2 separate regions of the Homo sapiens genome follow, and region 1 is linked to region 2. Evidence: promoter capture Hi-C in 16 types of primary human blood cells and fetal thymus (Javierre and others, 2016). All regions are on one chromosome and are shown on one strand. The core of a region is centred on a gene start or on the middle of the fragment in contact, and the rest is flanking DNA. Distances in the headings are between cores, read along the strand shown.

Evidence for each region. Contacts are between HindIII fragments. The CHiCAGO score rates a contact against its expected background, and 5 or more counts as called.
Region 1: a contact is called between a fragment that was not itself captured here and the fragment with the promoter of CLEC14A in region 2, in 1 of 17 cell types (endothelial precursors). The highest score is 5.2, in endothelial precursors.

What each region holds. Positions count from the first base shown.
Region 1 is chr14:38,387,161-38,390,577 of GRCh38, forward strand. No RefSeq gene overlaps it. Among named protein-coding and RNA genes, the nearest start is that of CLEC14A, 130 kb to the left of the region's middle. The HindIII fragment of the contact is 2,465 bases long and covers 919-3,383 here.
Region 2 is chr14:38,254,242-38,257,437 of GRCh38, forward strand. CLEC14A (C-type lectin domain containing 14A) reads right to left here and starts at 1,852. Exons shown (of 1, transcript NM_175060.3): 1 at 1-1,852. The coding sequence starts at 1,781. The coding sequence ends at 309. It overlaps LOC112268136 (a long non-coding RNA gene), which reads left to right and starts at 1,804. Exons shown (of 5, transcript NR_169588.1): 1 at 1,804-2,204. RefSeq lists an enhancer at 1,034-1,661. The HindIII fragment of the contact is 4,914 bases long and covers 1-3,196 here.

The DNA.
Region 1 (3,417 bases), core at 901-3,400, 130 kb after region 2:
ACATGATCAAGACTTCAAATGCTATCCAGAAAGCCAAAGAGATGCTAGAGAGATGGCTCAAGATTCAGCTGAATGATGATAAAAGAACCCAGAATTACAGGGGAAGTTAAGAAAAAATGACTTTGGAATTTTAAAATTAACTTGAAAGTTAGTTAACCTTCTGAGCCTGTTTTCCATTATAAAATGGATACAATAACACAGCATGTTGTGAGGCTTCAGTAAGTCTATGAATATGATGTAGATAGCACAGCACTCAGCACAGTCTGGGTGCTCAATAAATGAGAGGAACGTTTACTAGGAAGACTATCATAATGATTGTTTATGTGCTTTACAGTATGGAAGACAAGAACATAAGTGTCACATAAAGTAAATTGTGTATAAGCTGTTTCTTTTTTTTTTTTTTTAAAGGTGGTGTTTCTGAAACTTTAAAAAGTAAATTAAGAGAGAGTGAGGCAAAGGTGCACAGGGGCCAGGTCACCATGAGGAAAGGGGATGTCAAGCAATAGAACAGCAATTGAACGTCTGCCCACATGGATTCACCGAGCCCCCTTGGGGTGCCAAGAAAAGAGAAAGAAGGAGAGAATAAATACACTGATTTCCAGATGGTAGAGTGGGTGGTAAAGAGAAGGAAAATAGAGGAGTTAGAGATAAACAACAGCTGTAGTAAAAGAAAAAAGAAAAAGCAGCATGACGATGCTAGGTGAGCTTAGTCAGAAGACAGTATTCTGTCTGGGACTAAAATCCTCTGATTAGGAACAAGTAAAGGGGAGTATTTACAGAATTTGTGCTGGTAAAGAGATTAGCGACAGTGAATGGAGACAGAAACAGCCTCCTAATGTGGCACAGCTTAGGCATTTGACTGAGGCTTGAGAATAGTGGAAGAGATTAGTCAAAAGGCAAGTCAATTGAGTCCAGGGAAGCTTTGAAGCACTAATTAAAAACATACACAGAGTAAGTACCATTATCAGGAAGAAAACAACACAAATAAGAACACACAAAAAAAACTGGAGATGTGGCCTAAGGAACTCTCAGAGAAGAGAAATTGGATGTATTCTTAGGGAAAAAAAAACAAAGGCTGATGGGGCAGAAGAGACAAATTTTTATGATAAAAGAATACTAAATAACTATGTAGATACTCTCCATTCCAGGAGGAGGATCACTATTCCTAGCCCTTCTTCTACAAGAGTGAGCTGTAATTAGTGACTTGCTTCCATAGAATAGGGTAAGAGAAATCTGACAAACGCTATCCTAACCAAGTAATGAAGGTTAACATCACCAGTGACTTCACATGGATATCACGTACCCCTTGACATAATGTGGTGAGATAGGCACTTTGGCTCTATGGGATACTTTCCAAGAACTCATAACCTAATTCTAATTATGAGAAAAACATCAGACACATCCAGAGTTGGGGAAATTCTACAAGATACCTAGTCAATACTCTTCAAGACTGTTAAGGTCACGAAAAACACAGAAAGACTAAGAAATGGTCACAGACCAGAAGAGACTGGAGGGGCATGAAAATTAAAAGTAATGTGATACATTAGACTGGATCCTGAAACAGAGAGAAGAGATTGGTGGAGTAACTGGTGAAATCCAAAAGTGTGGAGTTAGTTAACAGTACTGTGCCAAAGTTGATTTCTTAGTTTTGATGACTGTACCATGGTAATGTAAGATGCTAACAATAGGGAAAAGGAGCAAAGGGTGTCTATTAGGGGACTTGCTGTACTATCTCTACATTGTTTCTATAAATCTAAAATTATTCAAATTTAAAGCAGCTTTTCAAAAAAGATGATAGCATGTTAAAAGGACACAGGAGCCAACTGAAATAGCTCCTCGTGGATCAATGGTGATAGAATTGGATTATAACCCAAGGAATAAAATAAATATCCATGATTTTATATTAATATGAGTAAATAAATAAATTAATTATTGGGGAAGAGGACAACTGTTTCTTACAGAAGAATTCCAATTAATAAATGCAGAAGAAATGAAGGAGATAGAAAACACCATTAGAACACTAGAGTAGTAATCACTACAGCCATGATCAACCAATAAATGCTAAAATTAGTGAGAGAAAGTTTATGGAGCAACAAGATAGCTTCCAATTACCTTACTGAAAATATTTATTAATTACAAAAGGGAAAGCAGTAACTTTTCATGGAGAAGCCTGGCAGACACCATCTTAAACAAGAGATCAAGGTTAACATCACTTCATTTTATAAGATATGAGCAAACATAAGACAAATCCAAAATGCAAGACATTTTACAAACCCCTGAACATTAGTTTTCAAAAGTGTCAAGGTCGAAAGACAAGGAAAGACAGAGAAACTGTCACAGATCAAAAGCAGCTAAGGAGACATGACAACTAAATACAATATAGGATCCTGGATTGATTACTGGAACAGAATAAGGACCCAAGTGAACTAAGTTGATAGTTTAGTTAATAGTATTGTACCAATGTTAGTTTCTAGGTTTTATGAGTATATCACTGTATGGCAATATGTTAACATTAAGCGAAATTGGAGAAATGAAACATTGCAAGTCTTTGTACTGTCTCTGCAACTTTTCTGTAAGTCTAAAATTATTTCAAAATTTAGAATTAGAAAACATATGAAACACACACACACACACACACACACACATACACATAAACAAAGGCCAAACAAAGAAAGCTCACTTGAGGTTTTGTGCCAAAGTACTACCAGATGCTCCACTTCCACTTCAGAATTCTGACTAATAGCATATGTTCACAAACAACGGAGATAACTGGTTGATCCATATGCTTTACTCCAAGACAACTTTGTTAGTATGTCTAGAGAACACAGGGGGTCTCCCATGACCCTCACTAAACCTAGGCTCTGGGAATCACATCTCCCACACTTCAGTGCCCAATCCCATCAGACAAGCTAGAGAATGACACGCCTCCCACCACACTGGGGAAAATCTGTCCTCTTTTGTTCACCAAGAGGGAAAAGGTAAAGAAGCAGCAGTAACATATGATTTGAAAGCAACAAGTCCAAGGAGATGTTTAAAAGGTGAACTGAGACATAATAACATTCTTTAAGAGTTTATTTGCACAAACAGCAATTCAGGCATCTGGCAGCTCCAAACCAGAAGTAGCTTGGGAGCTCCATAAAGGAAACATATAGATGAATAGGAAAGTAAAGCAAAGGAAATATTTGATGGGTTACCTACACACAGTTGGCTTATTTGGTCTATCCCATTGGAAAGTCTCTAGTTGTATCATTATAAGTTAGTTGGCTACTTTTGATTGGTTGAGACTAAGTTCTGTTGTTCTTCAAGATAGACATTTACAAGAAATAGCTCAAGTTAAGTTTTGCTTATGTTTGGAAATCAAGCAAGGTTAAGGTCATGTATGAAGCTTAACTGACTTTGTCTGCTCAGTGATTCGTC
Region 2 (3,196 bases), core at 602-3,101:
TGTTCTATTTGTTTCCAATGTCTTGAAAAGTTCAATCACTTCTCCAAATTCTCCGAATAAACATAAGAAAATATCTCTCCCCAGCACTACCCGGTCCCCCAGTATCACCATCCTAAAGGCACTTCCACTTCCTCTATCATCAGGGAAGGAGTGTGCAGTTCTGATTTAGCTCCTCAGTGGAGTAAAGGGAATTTAGAGGAAGGGGGATTTCTGCAGAAATTGTCAGTTACACAAGTAAGTTCCTCTTGGTTCCCCGTTTCATCAAAAGTGAAAAACTGTTCACAGGAGTGCCCATGTCCCCTGTTTCCCTATGCATCACTAGAGCCAAGAGGGGACTCCGCCAGCAAGGCACCCTCTGCTCTGTCCCGCAGATCACAGTCCCCGACTTTCACCCCATTGTTTGTGCAATGTGCAGAACTGGAGCCCAAAGCAGCGGGCTCAGGATCACTCTCCAGGCCCGGCGGGCCCATAGACTCCTTCCTTGGCTGGGAAGAGGGGCTTTCGTGAAAGCAGAGCTTGACAAGCCCCAGTACTGTCATGGTCAAGATCACCAACACTACTACTGCTGTGCTCACAAATATGAAGACCACGGCAGAGGAGGAGTCGAAAGCCTGAGGAGTGGCAGAGGAAGTCGTAGAATTAAACTTGGAAATCACGCTCCCTGATGGGGTGATAGTGGCCTTTGACTCGGCTTGAAGGGACATTTGAAGGGTAGACATCGTGCTCTGTGATCCCCATCGAGGAATCTCAGGAATAGATGTTACTGAATTGTCTTGTTCAGGGACAAGTGGTGTCTCTCCCAGCTTCTCGTCGACCCTGATTGGCCATGTTCTCTGCGGCACGGGGCTGGTTGCAGTGGCCGGCGGGCGCCTGGTGGGCACCCCGGTCCCCCCAAGGGTCGGCTGTCCTTCCCCACTGGTCACACAAGAGCGGCCGTCCTTCCCCAGCTCGAAGCCCGTAGCACATTCGCAGGCAAAGCCTCCCAAGTCGTCTAGGCAGTTAGGGAGCTCTGCGCATTTGCCAGCACGGAGGTACCTCCCGGGGCAGGGACACAACACATCGCCCGAGAGTTTGTCCCAGCGAGCGCCGATTTCGTCCGCGATGCAAGTAACTGAGATCGGGAGCTGTCCCCGGCAGAGCGCACTCACCTCGGTCCCAGGTGGACTGAAGTCCAGAGCGGCGCTGTGCAGCTGGAAGGGCGCGCGATAGCTCAAGTTAGAGGCGGCCCCGGGGCGCGGCGCAGGACACAAGACCTCAAACTGGTACTTGCACAGGTAGCCGTTGGCGCGCAGGTGGCATCGCATCTCCTTCCAGCCTGCGGGCTCGACCCCACCGGTGGCCTGGAGTACCGCGCATCTCCGCGCGGTGCAGGAGCGTTGGGGCTCCTCCACCCACTGCAGCGTGTCGCTTTCGAGACCGCCGGGGTCGGAGGACAGCCAGGAGAAACCCCGCAAAGGCTCGTTCTCCAGGGTGCAGTGGGAACGCCTGCGCTCCAGTGCGACCCAGAACAGCAGGTCTTTGGAGCCCCCTCCGGGCCCTGGGCCTGCCCGCAGGAGCGCGAGCACAGCGCGCAGCTCGGCGCCCGCACGCACGGTGCTGAGCGCCCCACCTCGCAGGATGCAGGCCTCCTCGGCCGCCTGCCGCTTCATGGTAGCGTGGTGCAGGCTGTAGCAGGCCCCCGAGGCCGAGCAGCCAGCACGGTCGGCAGTGGGGTGTTCGCCGCCGCCCGGCCCGGGCCAGAGCGCCTGCCAGAGGAGGCACAGGGCGAACGCCGGCCTCATTCTCTGAGGCCCCGCACGCAGAGCTGCTCCCAACTTGGATCTGTCCCGCTCGAGGACGCAGAGCTGTGTCTGGAGCGCGGTCACCGCCCTCTACAGCTGGCTTCCCCAACCCGGTTCCCCCTCCCTTCCCCTCCGCCCTCGCTCCCGACGGACCCCCCAACTGCCAAGAATCCCCCCGCGGGCCCAGCGGCCAACAGTTTCCCTTAGGCCGCGACAGGAAATGTGTGCGGAGCGCTGCCAGGCCCGGTGCAGCCCTGAGTTATTCTGGGGTCAGGAACACAGCTGGCGCCGGGTACAGGGGACGCAGTCGACTAGAAGGTCAAACACCCTGCTTAGAGCAAGAGGAGAAATTCGCCACTGGGATGAAGTGTGTGGTTTTTCTCCGTTCAGGGAGTTTCATCAGGACCGCAGAACCCATAACACGTAAGCGAACATAGGCAGGAAGGACTTGAGAAAGGAACTGGCTTATGATTATAAGACCACGCCCGTCTATTGTGTTTCTGTCCGGAGCTGTGGAGTTAGCGTCAGAATAATTCGTAGACGGCTCCAGTGTTTGGGGGGCCTGTGCCTGTGGGGGAAAAATATGTTGTGAAACAACTTAGCAACTGCTTTTGCCACCAGAGGCAGCACTATTTAACCGCATATCTCTCTATGGGTCTTTGCTTCTCTATTATGTCAAGAGATTTCAGGAGTCCTAACTACTAAAGAATTTGGAGTTGTTTGGGTATTTTAAATGGGAAATTCTGCTTCTTCCATCAGCACTTGCTTTAGAAATTTATTTTTCACTTCCACGTGTTTCTCTTTGAGTTAGACCATATTGATTCATTACAGAAAGGAAATGTATTTCTAGGACTAAATGAAAAATAATGACCATAGATCTTAACAGTTAGGTTGTTAGCTTTCCTTGCCACTGTATTGGTTCAAAAATTCTTCAAGTTTATAGGTTATACATAAATGAGTTCGTGGCCTTATAAATATTCGAGAACAACTGCCCTATGTGTGATTTTAGCCTTGAACTATTTTAGTATCATTTTCTCCTATGATTGAGTGGCAGCATTTATAATAGTAAGTTGTAAACATCTCCTTTAAGGAAAATTAGAGTTCCTTAAGAAATTAAAATGTTTATTCCATTATAATGAATATTGTATACTGTCAAAAAATATCTTGTAATTTGAAAGATGGGTGAGCCAATTTCTTTAGAATTCCAGTGGGTGTTTTGTTTTAATATAAACATTTCAACTCAGTGGGAAGTGGCAAGGAATTAAAGATGAATAAAGAAGTAAAGGTTAAAAACTGTACTGTTATGAAAGGATTTCTTGTTAGCAACTTAGACAATTCAGTATCAGTTTAGAAAACGTACATTCTATCTTGGTTCATAATGGCCAAATACGTTGCCATCAGAAATACATAGAGAG